Regions from separate parts of the Homo sapiens genome. Here region 2 is linked to region 1. The links are contacts of gene promoters, found by promoter capture Hi-C in blood cells and fetal thymus (Javierre and others, 2016). All regions are on one chromosome and are shown on one strand. Each heading gives the region's core, a stretch centred on a gene start or on the middle of the fragment in contact. The rest is flanking DNA. Distances are from core to core; before and after follow the strand shown.

What was found. The method cuts DNA at HindIII sites, captures the fragments that hold promoters and counts their contacts. A CHiCAGO score of 5 or more calls a contact.
Region 2: a fragment that was not itself captured here is called in contact with the fragment with the promoter of DUSP26 in region 1 in 7 of 17 cell types (non-activated CD4 T cells, M0 macrophages, monocytes and 4 more); the score reaches 11.1 in non-activated CD4 T cells.

The regions. Positions count from the first base shown.
Region 1 is chr8:33,595,301-33,602,925 of GRCh38, reverse strand. DUSP26 (dual specificity phosphatase 26) reads left to right here and starts at 2,903. Exons shown (of 4, transcript NM_024025.3): 1 at 2,903-3,261; 2 at 5,335-5,631. The coding sequence starts at 5,411. RefSeq lists an enhancer at 4,737-5,237. The HindIII fragment of the contact is 17,028 bases long and covers 1-7,625 here.
Region 2 is chr8:33,502,438-33,510,062 of GRCh38, reverse strand. TTI2 (TELO2 interacting protein 2) reads left to right here. Exons shown (of 8, transcript NM_001102401.4): 3 at 131-317; 4 at 2,742-2,834; 5 at 6,128-6,315; 6 at 6,491-6,634. Among named protein-coding and RNA genes, the nearest start is that of TTI2, 6.9 kb to the left of the region's middle. The HindIII fragment of the contact is 1,423 bases long and covers 3,871-5,293 here.

The DNA of each region.
Region 1 (7,625 bases), core at 1,654-4,153:
GTCTCTCTCAGGTATTCAATCAGAATGATGACACCAATTTAATATATGGGTGAGATAAAATGAGCTGATTGGCAGGGCATGGTGGCTCTGGCCTATAATCCCAGCACTTTGGGAGGCTGAGGCGGGCAGACCACCTGAGGTCAGGAGCTTGAGACCAGCCTGGCCAACATGGTGAAACCTAATCTCTACAAAAAATACAAAAATTAGCCAGGTGTGGTGGCATGCACTTGTCATCCCAGCTACTCAGGAGGCGACACACAAGAATTGCTTGAACTGGGGAGGCAGCAGTTGCAGTGAGCCAAGATCACACCACTGCACTCCAGCCTAGGAGACAGAGCAAGACTCTGTCTTAAAAAAAAAAAAAAGAAAAAAAAATCGCCAGGCATTGTGGCATGCACCTGTATAGTCCCAGCTACTTAGGAGGCTGAGGCAAGAGGATCGTTTAAAAGAGGATGGTTTAAGCCCAGGAGGTTGAGGCTGCAGTGAGCTATGATTTTACCACTGCACTCCAGCCTGAGACCCTGCCTCAAAAAAAAATCAAAAAAACAAACAAAAAAACAAAACAAAACAAAACAAAAGAAATCAAGTGGGCTATAGATCGACTCATGAAAATGATCCTCACGGATATGTCAGTCCCCAGGTAATTTCTATAATTACCCATAAACAGCTGTACACATTGTCTGTGGTGTACTTTAAACTGTATTTTCCCCGCTTTTTGAAAAAAGTGTAATGCAGGGTTGAAACAGAGGTCTTGTCAAAGATTGAGATCAGCTTTACCTACAACATCCTCTCAACCTACCAATCTTGAAGACTTTTCACTTAAAATGACATTGATCTTCACCTGAGGTCGGGAGTTCGAGACCAGCTTGGCCAACATGGAGAAACCCTGTCTCTACTAAAAAATACCAAATTAGCCAGGCATGGTGGCACATGCCTGTAATCCCAGCTACTTGAGAGGCTGAGGCAGGAGAATCGCTTGAACCCGGGAGGTGGAGGTTGCGGTGAGCTGACATTGCACCATTGCACTCCAGCCTGGGCAAAAAGAGCAAAACTCCGTCTCAAACAAACAAACAAAAAAAAGATATTGATCTTGTAAGTGCTCTTTCACAATTCCTTTTATGATAATGTTTTAACTAGGTTTGCAAATTAAATCCAAATTTTAATTTGGATGCGCAAATTAAAATCTCAAATTTCTCAGGTCAATTCCTTGGGGTTTTTTGTTGTTTGTTTGATTGTTTATTTTCGCTTTTGTTTGTTTGTTGAGAGGGAGCCTCGCTCTGTCGCTCAGGCTGGAGTGCAGTGGCATGATCTCAGCTCATTACAACCTCCACCTTCCATGTTCAAGTGATTCTCCCACCTCAGCTTCCCAAGTAGCTGGGACTACAGGCGCCTGCCACCACACCCGGCTAATTTTTGTTTTTTAGTAGAGATGGGGTTTCACCATGTTGGCCAGGCTGGTCTCGAACTCCTGACCTCAGGTGATCTGCCCACCCTGGCCTCCCAAAGTGCTGGGATTACAGGTGTGAGCCACCATGCCCTGCCTCTTTGTTTTAAATGACAAGGATTTCATTTCATATTTAAACTGCTGTAACACAAGGGACAAGGAAAAGTGAAAAGAATTTTGTTTCTCTAGAGAAAAAAAAAGGCTAGGCGGTACATTAAACTTGGATGGCAGCCTGTCATGGAACCTGGGGATTGGTCACATTGGCCAGTACTTTCTCTAACCCAGAGATCAAAACCTGATCTGCCACCACTGCTGGGAATGGAGTCAGTCCTGGTTTCAGCTATAGCTGACACCATCAGCTTCAATCTGAGCCAATCTACTTTCTGCCTTTCTTCTAGTAGACAGCGAGAGTTCAAGCCAGCCTAGTTCTCAACAGCATCATCTGCTAACATTTATCATCTCCCCCACTTCCCTCTCACACAATAAGGTAGGCACTGGGGAAGGTAGCACAGTCCCTGCCTTCAAAGTGCTTACAATCTTGGTGCTTACAATAAAAATGCCGATCAAGTGAATATGTCACTAGAAGGCAGCACATGAGAAATTAATATGAAGATGGCCGGACACAGTGGCTCATGCCTGTAATCTGAGCACTTTGAGAGAAGGTGGGTGGATCACCTGAGGTCAGGAGTTCAAGACCAGCCTGGTCAACATGGTGAAACCCCATCTGTACTAAAAAACAAACAAACAAAGAAAAAATATATACAAAAAATTAGCCAGGCATGGAGGCGGGCGCCTGTAATCCCAGCTACTTGGGAAGCTGAGGCAGGAGAATGGCTTGAACCTGGGAGGCGGGTTACAATGAGCCAAGATTGCGCCACTGCACTCCAGCCTGGGCGACAGAGTGGGACTGCATCTCAAAAAAGAAAGAAAGAAATATGAAGATGAATGTTTTGAGAGTCTGGGGAAAGTGAAGTTCACTATGAGCTGAGCTGGTGGAAATGGCTTCCTGAATGAAGGAAATCCATGGTGCCTTCTCCATTTTGTGGGAGGCACTGGTTTAGAGAGTGGTTAAGGACATAAACTGCAAAGCCAGGCTGCATTGTTTGAACAAGCTCAGCTCTGCCAGTAACGAGCTGTGTGACCAGGGCAGAGTACCTAGCCTCTCTGTGCCTAGGTCGCCTCCTCCCTAAAATTAGGACAATAGTAATTATGTCTCCCTCATAGACTTGTGGGGAGTATAAAATGCCTTAAGCTAAATGAAGCACATGGCATATAATGAAGGCTAATGGGGGCTTCGGACCATTGTTCTTTATGACACGGTTTCTTGAGACCGAGGCATGTACAAGCCAGTGCACAGAATCGTGTCTATGTAATTAGTTAATTCTGTCTGGGAGGAGTGTGTGTGTTTAAGACAGTGCCTGGGATGACTTATAATGTAATCTTTAGGCAAAACGCTTTGTAATTGGTGCAGCTCTGAGAACACACGCATGCATTCCAGGCGGTGCTGCTGGGGCTCGGCGGGGCCGTGTCTGGTCTGCAAGGCGCGCGGGCTCGTGGGGGGTTGGCTGGGGAGCCCACGCTGCCTGGCGACTCGGGCCACCGAATGTGAGACCGAGTCCCTTTATGTCACCAGCGCACACGCTGATTTGAACCCTGCTTCGACGTGTGTGTCATGGCTTAAAAATAGCTGCTAATCTGTCAACCTGTCTTGGGCAGAAACAGCGGCGGCGACAGCAGCAGGAGCGTCATGGCCGTGGCGCTGTCTGCGCCGGCGATCCGCCTTTCGGACTGAGGCCCAGCGCAGCGCTTGCAAAGAGGTAGAGGGGCTGCGGCGGGCCTTCGCCTTTTCAGCTGGCTCTCCACGCTGGGGAGAGGCGCCCAGCTAGGGGCGACGGGGGAGGGAGGGGACCGGGAAGCGGGCACCCGAGCCCAGCGAGCCAGCCTCTCTCTCCCGGGCGCCCTCCCTCCGCGCGCGGGGCCCGGCTGCCAGGCTGGCGAGGACTGGGGCGACAGCCATGGACCTGTTACAAAGGCGACCGCAGGCGGAGGGAGGGAGCGGCGGGCCAGGGCCCCTGGAGCCGACGGATGGGATTGGAGAATGCCCAGGGCTGTATCCCTGGACAGAAAGGGGCTTCTGCATCCCCCGGGAAAAACAGCCCCACGGAGATCCTTCTTAGACCTGGGCTCCTTCACGCTTCCCCCATCCCATTCATCATCTCGTAGACAGCAGACTCTCTAAGAGGAAAGGTTGTATTGCAATACAGTAATGGGGTCTTTAGGCCTGGGTGCAAAGGTAGAAGAAGATGATGGTGATAGTGATGGTGGTGATGGTGGTAGTGATGATGGTGATGGTGGTGGTGATGATGGCTGTAGTGCTATATTTCTGTGCTCCTTCCGGACCCAGCCATTGAAAACTCTCTCTCCCTAAACTCCCTAACATCCAATCTTCCCTCACCAATCCTGGTCCTAAAACCCCTGCTTCTAATGCCTTGTAAGTGCTTGGTTTCTCTTGGCACTGGAGCAAGGGAGAGCTGGGCCCTGTCTAGGGGTGTGAGATGGGGACAGAGCATGGGCAGGGACAAAGATGGCCTCTCACTGCTGGTCATAGAGTTGAAGTCCCCCTGGCAGGAGGCCAGGAAGGGAGTGGAAGGGGATTCTGCAGGCTCCAGGACCTCCTGCTTTCAAACAGGCAGGACCACAGGTGTGAGAGGATGGGGAGGGAGGGGGAAGGGGCCTTGCCATTGTTGCCTCCCTGCCTGAAGGTCCCAGGGCAAGCCTCAAACGCTGGTCCTTCCCAGCTCTGCAGCTCAACAGGTAATCTGAGACACACCTGCTAAGCCCCTCGTTATTGACCTCGTGTTTTGTAGGGTCACTTGACTCCAACAGCCATACGGTTGGTAATTCTAAGCCTCTGAGCCCCTGGACCTGGCAGGATCCCTCATTTTTCCCTTTCCTTCCTGCTTTCTAGGCCCCCACCACCCACCCCTGTCCCCCCTCCCCTCAAGACACACACAGACAAAACACTCCAACCCTGCGTCAATTCCCCCACCATCCACCTCTGTCACCCTCCCCTCAAGACACACACAGACAAAACACTCCAACCCTGCTTAGATTCAGAAATTCTCACATTAGAGCTGAGATCTGATCAGTAATTTCCTAATGCTGATCCAAGGAGGGTGGTTTGCCTGTTGTGCACATAGATTGGTGCCTTCTTCCATAAGCTCATGCATTCAGCAAGTATTTATTTTTTGCAAACTTACTCTTCCTCTTTATTGCTATTCTCCACTCACCCCATCCCACCCCCACCACACCCTTCCCATAGCAGGTTTATCTCTGAGGCAGTGGCAGGTCACGAAGGGGTTAAAGTCTAACTCTGGCACAGAGATGGCAGGCCTGACATGTGTCATGGCCTCAGCTGCTGTTGTCTCCCTGCTAATTCTCTTTGGATGGGTCTAAAGGTACCCCCAACCCCATCCCAGCTCCCTAGGCTCTCTGCCGATAGCCCCAGGCAGATGAGACTCAGATTCCAGCTGGCAAGATCCCCAGCAGTGGGGACAACCACCCAAGTGCCGTGTGTGTGTGTGTGTGTGTGTGTGTGTATGCGTGCTGGCAGTGGGGGTGGGGTGATGAAGCTGAAACCTAGCAGCTGGGCAGCTCCCTCTCCCCGTAAACAAGGACATGTGACTCTCCCACCTCGTTTCGTGGCAGAGCCAAAGAGCTGAGCAAAAGGAGCTGCTGCAGCTTGAAGAAAAAGCCACCCCTGAAGGCTCCTGCCAGAGCCAGGCTTACCTTCTCTCCCTCGAGAATCTTCTCCCGAAGGACCAGCCCAGGGAAGGGAAGCAGCTGCTCTGGACTCACTCAAGTGTGTCTCACACCCCTTCCTCTTCCAGCAGCAGCTACCTGGCAACTGAACCCATCATCACCACAGCCACTCCTGCAGCTGCCACGGTTTCTGCCACCTCTAAGATGTGCCCTGGTAACTGGCTTTGGGCTTCTATGACTTTTATGGCCCGCTTCTCCCGGAGTAGCTCAAGGTCTCCTGTTCGAACTCGAGGGACCCTGGAGGAGATGCCAACCGTTCAACATCCTTTCCTCAATGTCTTCGAGTTGGAGCGGCTCCTCTACACAGGCAAGACAGCCTGTAACCATGCCGACGAGGTCTGGCCAGGCCTCTATCTCGGAGACCAGTATGTATCGGGCAGACTGGGCCCACGGTAGAGCGTGTGTGTGTTTGTGTGTGTAAGAAAGGAGAAGGGTGGCAGACAGGTATGCAGTGGTGTCATTGGTTCCTGGTTGAAGATTGAGGGGATAGGGCACATGGGCCAAGAGTAGAGGCTGCAGGTTTGGGAGAGTTTGGCCAGGATTATTGAAATGCCCAACTCTGGCCAGTCACAGTGTCTCTTGCCTGTGATCCCAGCAGTTTGAAAGGCTGAGGCAGGAGTATCTAGAGTACAGGAGTTCTAGACCAGCCTGAGCAACAAAACCAGACCCCATCTCTACTTATTATTTTAAAATAAAATAAATAAAATAAAAATACCCAAGTCTGGACAGAAAGACTCTGTTCCAGTAATAATATCATTCATGTATCACATATTTATTATTACATGCCAGTGCTACATACCAGGCACAATAGATGACTTCTCTGACCTTCCATCTATTGTGCAATGTCTCTGGGAAAAGGCAGCCACTGGAAGCCAGGAGCAGTAGGTAGGAAGCTGCAGTGGTTTCTCTTGAGACCAAGCAAAGCGGCAGTGCCTACAGAGATTCTGCAATTTGAAGGCTATGGAGAGAAAAACATCAAAGGAAGAGCCATCCCCACTTCTCTCCCTCAAAGTTATACAAGGATTTCTTTTGCTTCTTTGGTTTGTTTTGGTTTTGGTTTCTTTCTTTTATTTTTTTTTGGAGACAGTATCACTCTGTCACCCAGGCTGGAGTGCAGTGGCGCGATCTTGGTTCTCTGCAACCTCCACCTCCCGGGTTCAAGCGATTCTCCTGCCTCAGCCTCCAGAGTAGCTGGGACTACAGGCACACACCGCCTTGCCCGGCTAATTATTTTTTTGTATTTTAGTAGAGACGGGGTTTCACCGTGTTGCCCAGGCTGGTCTTGAGCTCCTGAGCTCAGGCAGTCCACCTGTCTCGGCCTCTCAAAGTGCTAGGATTATAGGTGTGAGCCACCGTGCCCAGCATTGTTGTTGTTTTTGAGACAGGGTCTCACTGTTGCCCAGGCTGGAGTGCAGTAGCCCAATCTCAGCTCACAGCAAACTCCGCCTCCCGGGTTCAAGCAATTCTCCTGCCTCTGCCTCCCAAGTAGCTGGGCTTACAGACGCCCATCACCACACACAGCTGATTTTTGTATTTTTAGTAGAGACGGCGTCTAGCCATGTTGGCCAGGCTGATTTTGAACTCCTGGCCTCAAGTGATCCACCTGCTTCAGCCTCCCAAAGTGCTGGGATTACAAGCATGAGCCACCGTGCCTGGCCTACAAGGATTTTTTTCACACACATTATCTCTCTTAATCTTCACAACAGCCCTGTGAGATAGGTATCACTCTCCCTGGGTTACAGATGAGGAGACTGAAGCTCAGAGAAGTTGTGCCTGGCCAAGGTCACACGGGTTGTAAGTAGCAGAGCCCGGGCTTGGAGGCTCAAGTTCAGTGCTCTTTCTGCTTAAGGAGTTTGCACTGGACAGGGCAACTCAGTTTGCCCTGAGATATGACTGTGGTGCCCAGGGGTGTCTGCCACCAAGCTGAGGGGTCTGGGCCGGATGAACACCTGAAGGTGACGTCATAAAACAGGGTAAATGTGGCCGGGCATGGTGGCTCACATCTGTAATCCCAGCACTTTGGGATACTTAGGCGGATGGATCACGAGGTCAGGAGTTCAAGACCAGCCTGGCCAAGATAGTGAAACCCCGTCTCTACTAAAAATACAAATATTAGCCTGGCATGGTGGTGGGCACCTGTAATCCCAGCTACTCGGGAGGCTGAGGCAGAGAATTGCTTGAACCCGGGAGGCAGAGGTGGCAGTGAGCCGAGATCGCGCCACTGCACTCTAGCACTCCAGCCTAGGTGACAGAGCAAGACACCATCTCAAAAAAAAAAACAAACAACAACAACAACAACAAAAAAAAACACAGTCACAGTAAATGTGAGCCATGGAATATCTGGCAAAAACACAAGACG
Region 2 (7,625 bases), core at 3,333-5,832, 95 kb after region 1:
ATCTTATGTGCGATGTATTTTTTTTTTCAAAGACATGAAAATACTCTGTTTAGCTTGAAGTAGTTTTTTTTTTTTTTTTTTTTGCTACTTATCACCATGTCACTTAATGTAATTCTATGTATTCACTTAGGGAATCCTGGAAGAATAACCCTGCCATCAAACATGTTTTCTCATGGACTCTGCAACAGGTCACTCGGCCCTGGCTGAGCCAGCATCTGGAAAGGGTACTTCCCGCATCATTGGTCATTTCAGATGACTATCAGACTGAGAACAAAATCCTGGGTGTACACTGTCTCCATCACATTGTGCTTAATGTGGTAAGCAACCTCTGGCTTGTCATCTGTGTTGACAGGACAGACTGAGTCATTCCTGGCTGTTCTTCATTTCTAGTAATGCTAAGTCATTCAACTTTACTTATTTGTATTTTCTCCTTATATTTTTCCTCTATCCACCTGGTAGAAGTTGTATCCTATAGGTAATGTAATAACTAAAATGATAATTATAGAAGAAACAGGAAGGCATGGGTCATTATCAAACTGAATAACCAGATGTTGAGAACTGGTCAACAGTTGATTTTCTTTCTTTCTTTTTTTTTTTTTTTTTTTTTGAGAGGGAGTCTCACTCTATCACCCAGGCTAGAGTGCAGTGGTGTGATCTTGTCCCACTGCAACCTCCACCTCTTAGGTTTAAGCAATTCTCCGCCTCTGCCTCCCGAGTAGCTGGGATTACAGGTGCGTGCCACCATGCCCAACTAATTTTTGTATTTTTAGTAGAGATGGGGTTTCACCATCTTGGCCAGGCCGGTCTTCAACTCCTGACCTTGTGATCCACCTGCCTCAGCCTCAGCCTCCCAAAGTGCTGGGATTACAGGCGTGAGCCACTGCACCTGGCCTACTTCCTTTCTTTCTTTCTTTTTTTTTTTTTTTTTTTGAGACATTATCACTCTGTCGCCTGGGCTGGAGTGTGATCTTGGCTCACTGCAGCCTCTGCCTCCCGGGTTCAAGTGATTCTCTTGCCTCAGCCTCCCTAGTAGCTGGGGATCCCTAGTAGCAGCCACCACACCCAGCTAATTTTTGTATTTTTAGTGGAAATGGGGTTTCACCATATTGGCCACGTCCGTCTCGAACTCCTGACCTCAGGTGATCTGCCTGTCTTGGGCTCCCATAGTGCTGGGATTATAGAGATGAGCCACCCCGCCCGGCCTACAGTTGAGTTTCAAGGACGAAAACAAAACAAACAAAATCAGAGCCTGAAAGGGACTATATCCAAATGTGGAAGCTATTACTCAAGGAAAAATTTTTTAAAAAAACTTTGTACTATGGAGCTTTTAAAATATACACAGAAGTAGAGAGAGTGGTATAATTAATCTCCATGTACCTGTAGGGGAGAGCCAGAGATCACCTCCAACCCTGCCCCCCTGCCCTTTTTTTTTTTTTTTTTTTTTTGAGGCAGAGTCTTGCTCTGTCGCTTACGCTGGAGGCTGGAGTGCAGTGGTGTGATCTTAGCTCACTGCAACCTCTGCCTCCCGGGTTCAAACGATTCTTGTGCGTCAGCCTCTAGAGTAGCTGGAATTACAGGAACGCACCACCATGCTCAGCTACTTTTTCTTTTTTTTAAATTTTTTGTAGAGGTAGGGTCTCACCATGTTGGCCAGGCTGGTCTTAAACTCCTGGCCTCAAGTGATCCACCAACCTCGGCCTCCTAAAGTGCTGGGATTGATTATAGGCGTGAGCCCGGCCTCAGCCCCCTTTTTATCTCTTAGTGGGCTCTTTTCCTGGATCTAGAAACCAAATTGACAACAGGCAGATTAGCAAGAGGAAACTATACACATTTTATTAGTTTTACGTGTACATGGGGATCTTCACAAGAGAGAGTATTCTGAAGAAGTGGCCAAAGCAATATGCTTTTATACTTTTTAGACTAAGAATGATAAATTTTTCGTCTTTTTTTTTTTTTTTTTTTTTTTTTTTTTTTTACTACCGCTAGCCACATTTTCTTTGTCTTGTCAGAAAAAATGACAGGACAAAGAAAATGTGGCTAGGGGCAGTACATTTTCCTTTTTTTTTTTTTTTTTGAGACAGGGTCTTGCTCTGTTACCCAGGCTAGAGTGCAGTGGCACAATCATAGCTCACTGCAGCCTCAACCCCCTGGGCTCAAGTGATCCTCCCACCTCAGCCTCCCAAGTAGCTGGGACTACAGGCATGCACCACCAGGCCAACTAATTTTTTAATTTTTTTTTTTGGTAGAGACAGGGTCTTGCTCTGTTGCCCAGGCTGCTGTCAAACTTGGCCTTAAGTGAGCCTCTCACCTTGGCTTTCCAAAGTGCTGGGGTTACAGGTGTGAGTCACCATGCTTGGCTCTAGGGTAGTCACTAGGAGATACATGGTTGTAGGTGGTGGGGGGATGGATAGGTGGAAGATAAAGGTTACTTTGTTCAGTTTATGTAGGTCCATTGCAGCCTTCAATTCCAAGTCTCTGTAAGGGCTGTTTTCTTACCCTGGTATGGAAAGCATACCCCACCCAGAGGAATCTTTTATCACTTGCTGCATGCAGAAAGAGACAAGTCAGCTCACCCTTTCTGAATCTACAGTTTCTGCAATATTTTCAACTCGAAACAATCATGCATATTTTGGGATGGCATGTTCTTCATGCTTCATACCCATAATCCAATTTCAAAGATAGTCAACATGTGCCAATCTTGGGAAACTATTCTTTTAATTTGACGATTTGTCTGGTTGCAGCCAGCTGCTGATTTGCTCCAGTATAACAGAGCCCAGGTCCTATACCATGCCATTTCCAACCACCTGTACACACCAGAGCACCACCTCATTCAGGTAATAGTATGATTTCTTCATAACTGGGTCTGGATTCTCTGAATTTGAGTAGAAGGTTGCATTGTGTGAGTAGTAGTAATTGAGAGACATTTTCCTGCCTTGGAAAGTGAGGATGATAACTAAAAGCGTTGCCAAGTTAAAAATATCTCAGCACCAAGCAGGCCTCCACATTCCTGAGTCTCCACAGATAAGACAGTGTTTTTTATTCATCTGAGTCAATTGTATATTACTTTGGGCTGGGCATGGTGGCTCACGCCTGTAATCCCAGCACTTTGGGAGGCTGAGGGAGGCAGATCACCTGAGGTCAGGAGTTCGAGACCAGCCTGGCTGACATGCCAAAACCCCATCTCTACTAAAAATACAAAAAAATTAGCCGGGCATGATGTTGTGCATCTGTAGTCCCTACTACTCAGGAGGCTGAGGCACAAGAATCATTTGAACCCGGGTGGCGGAGGTTGCAGTGAGCTGAGGTCACGTCACTGCACTCCAGCCTGGGTGACAGTGCGAGACTCCATCTCAATTTAAAAAAAAAAAAAAAGCCTGGCACTGTGGCTCACACCTGTAAATCCCAGCACTTTGGGAGGCCGAGGCGGGCGGATCACGAGGTCAGGAGATCAAGACCATCCTGGCTAATATGGTGAAACCCCGCCTCTACTAAAAATAGGAAAAATTAGCCAGGCGTGGTGGCACGTGTCTGTAGTCCCAGCTACTCGGGAGGCTGAGTCAGGAGAATCTCTTGAACCCAGGAGGTGGAGGTTGCAGTGAGCCGAGATCATGCCACAGCACTCCAGCCTGGGTGACAGAGCGAGACTCCATCTCAAAAAAAAAAAAAAAAAAAAGTACGTTACTTTGGAGGCAGCTTTATGTCTGAAAAAGTCTATTTTTATTAGTTAAGTGTTCTGTTTTGCCTTTTATCAGCACACACACTTGAAACTTCTTGCATGTTAGATATCGGAGTGTGATTTATTATTTCATCCAACAGACATGGTTCCAAGAGTAAATGAACGGATAGGGATTTTTGGCTTTAAGATAAGCTTTGGAAAAGACATTTATGTAAATACGAATATGTACTTAGATGTCTACATATATATACAGTACAGAATGATGACTGCATTAGAAGAGGTTTCTATAAAGCGCAGTGGGTGGCCAGGCGCGAGGGCTCACGCCTGTAATCCCAGCATTTTGGGAGGCCGAGGCAGGCAGACCACCTGAGGTTGGGAGTTCAAGACCAACCTGACCAACATGGAGAAACCCCGTTCTACTAAAAATGCAAAATTGCTGGGCATGGTTGCTCACATCTGTAATCCTAGCACTTTGAGAGGCTGAGGTGGGCGGATCACGAGGTCGGGAGATCGAGACCATCCTGGCTAACATGGTGAAATCCCATCTCTACTAAAAATGCAAAAAATTAGCCGGGCATGGTGGCACGTGTCTGTAGTCACAGCTACTCGGAAGGCTGAAGCAGGAGAATCACTTGAACCCAGGAGGCGGAGGTTGCGGTGAGCCAAGATCGCGCCACTGCACTCCAGCCTGGTGACAAAGTAACACTCCGTCTAAAAAACAAATGCAAAATTAGCCAGGCATGGTGGCGCATGCCTCTAATCCCAGCTACTCAGGAGGCTGAGGCAGGAAAATTGCTTGAACCCAGGAGGCAGAGGTTGCAGTGAGCCGAGATCATGCCATTGCCCTCCAGCCTGGGCAACGAGAGTGAAACTACATCTCAAAAAAAAAAGAAAAAAAAAAGGTGCAGTGGCTTTCAAGCAATAGGTAACTAACTAGGTTTGGGTTGACTTTAGGAGGTTTTGGGAAGGAGGTGATACTTAGCTTTATGAAGGATGAATAAGTAAAAGTTTCTTAGGAGGGAGAAAGAAACTACAAAGACAGAAGAAACAAGTTATATAAAATGAGAGGTGGAAGCAACGTTGTTTCTTTTTTATGCCTTACTTCCCTCCTTTCCCCCTCCCCACCCTGCTGCCTTTATTTTTATTTTATTTAATTTATTTTTTTGAGGTGGATCTTGCTCTGTCATGCAGGCCGGAGTACAGTGGCGCGATCTTGGCACATTGCAACCTTCGCCTCCCAGGTTCAAGCGATCCTTCTGCCTCAGCCTCCCTAGTAGCTGGGATTACAGGCAGGTGCCACCATGCCCAGCTAATTTTTGTATTTTTAGCAGAGACGGGGTTTTGCCATGTTGCCCAGCCTGGTCTCAAACTCCTGACCTCAAGTGATCCGCCCGCCTTGGCTTCCCAAGATACTAGGATTACAGGCATAGGCCACTGCACCCAGCCTCTTTTTCTTTTTACAGTATTTTAAATACTGGGTATTGAGAATCCAGATTGTAACAGCCGGAAAGGCTGGGGTTCTTAAGGTGGTAGAGAAAATAAATTTTAGAAAACCAAAACACCAAGAGAAAAACCAAAGGTCCCAGGAAAGTTAAAAGGAAGTACCTGAACCAAGCTTGTCCAAGCCATGGCCTGCATGCATCCCAAGATGGCTTTGCATGCAGCCCAACACAAATCTGTAAACTTTCTTAAAATGTTGTAAGATTTTTTTTGCATTTTTTTTTTAAAGCTCATCAGCTGTCATTAGTGTTAGTGTATTTTATATGTAGCCCAAGACAATTCTTCTTCCACTGTGACCCAGGGAAGCCAAAAGATTGGATACCCCTGGCCTAGGGATAAATCCTAGCACTTTAGGAAGCCAAGGCGAGTGGATCACTTGAGGCCAGGATGGTGAAACTTTGTCTCTACTAAAAAATAGAAAAGTTAGCCAAGTGTGGTGGTGCACACCTGTAGTCCCAACTAGTTAGGTGGCTGAGGCACGAGAATCGCTTGAGCCTGAGAAGCGGAGGTTGCAGTGAGCCAAGATTGCACCACTGTCCTTCAGCCTAGGTGACAGAGTGACTCTGTCTCACAAAAAAAAAAAAAAAAAAAAAAAAATGTGTAAATATCATGTATCACTAAGTCACTTAGACTTAGTGACATAGTAACAGTAGACTTAGATTCCTAAAATCTGGATTAAAGTCCCAGCTCTGCCATTTTTCCGATTTTATAAATTAGCAAAGAATGGTCCTGAGGAGAATGTATTGATTTGAGACTGTCAGATGGAGATTAAGAATGTAAAAAAGTTTGAAAATGTAAAGTAATGTGCAGTTCATATATGATTACTAGTATCTTAGAATTCTCTGGTATGGACCCTAAGGACGGTAGATTAATGAAGTTCTAGAGAAGTCAGTGAGTATTGTAAATGCAAATGGATGAACTATGCACCGTCCTTCCATTCCTTCCTCCTAGGCTGTGCTCCTGTGTCTGCTGGATTTATTCCCCATCCTGGAGAAAACCCTGCACTGGAAAGGAGATGGAGCTCGACCCACCACCCATTGTGATGAGGTCCTGCGGCTGATCCTGACCCACATGGAGCCAGAGCACCGCCTTCTTTTACGCAGGACCTACGCAAGAAACCTGCCGGCTTTCGTGAACAGGTGAGGCCCTGGGCTTTTATTTATTATTATTTTATACAGACAGGATCTTGCTATGTTGCTTGAGCTGCTCTCGAGCTCCTGGCCTCAAGCAATCCTCCCACCTCAGCCTCCCAAAGTACTGGGATTACAGGCATGAGCCACTGCACTGGCGTCATATTTTCTCTTTCATCTTTAGGTTGGGGATCCTAACTGTCCGGCACTTAAAGAGGCTGGAGAGAGTCATCATTGGTTATCTGGAGGTTTATGATGGACCTGAGGAGGAAGCTAGACTGAAGATATTGGAAACCCTAAAACTTCTCATGCAACATACTTGGCCCAGGTAATAGCAGCCTTAAGGTGCAAAACTCAGCCGATTTTCTCTTGAGAACTTGCTTGGATGTATTTAATACATTCAGTACAAAGTATTAAATGTATACTATGTATTTGAATACCTCCCATTTTCACACACCTATAGGATTTTAAACTGAGAAAATGGCATTAGAAAGATAAAATATACTATAGTTACTTGAGGTGCTCATAGTTGACTCTTTTACCAGGTATCAGTTCCAGATTCTGACAGTTAAATCGCTTCTCTTTGAAACTCTAGTATATCTTTTTTGTTTTTTTTTTTTTTTTTTTTGAAATGGAGTCTCACACTGTCGCCCAGGCTGGAGTCCAGTGGCGCGATCTCTGCCCACTGCAACCTCTGCCTCCTGGGTTCAAGTGATTCTCCTACCTCAGTCTCCCAAGTAGCTGGGATTACAGGCGCCCACCGCCAGGCCCGGCTAATTTTTTGTATTTTCAGTAGAGATGGGGTTTCACTATGTTGGCCAGGCTGGTCTTGAACTCCTGACCTTGTAATCCACCCGCCTTGGCCTCCCAAAGTGCTGGGGTTACAGGCGTGAGCCACCATGCCCAGCCTTTTGTTTTTGTTTTTGTTTTTGAGATGGAGTATTGCTCTGTCACCCAGGCCGGAGTGCAATGGCGCGATCTCAGCTCACTGCAACCTCTGCCTCCTGGATTCAAGTGATTCTCCTGCCTTAGCCTCCTGAGTAGCTGGGATTACAGGTGCCCTCCACCATGCCTGGCTAATTTTTAAAAAATTTTTAGTAGAGATGGTGTTTCACCATGTTGGCCAGGCTGGTCTCGAACTCCTGACCTCGTGATTTCCCCTCCTCAGCCTCCTAAAGTGCTGGGATTATAGGCGTGGGCCACTGTGCCTGGCTATATATCTTAAGAATGGTTTAGATTGGTGTTTTGCAGAATCTCCATCTAGGTACTCTTTGATGCCCCACAGGAAAAAAAAAAAAATTCTGTGGTCAAATAGGTTG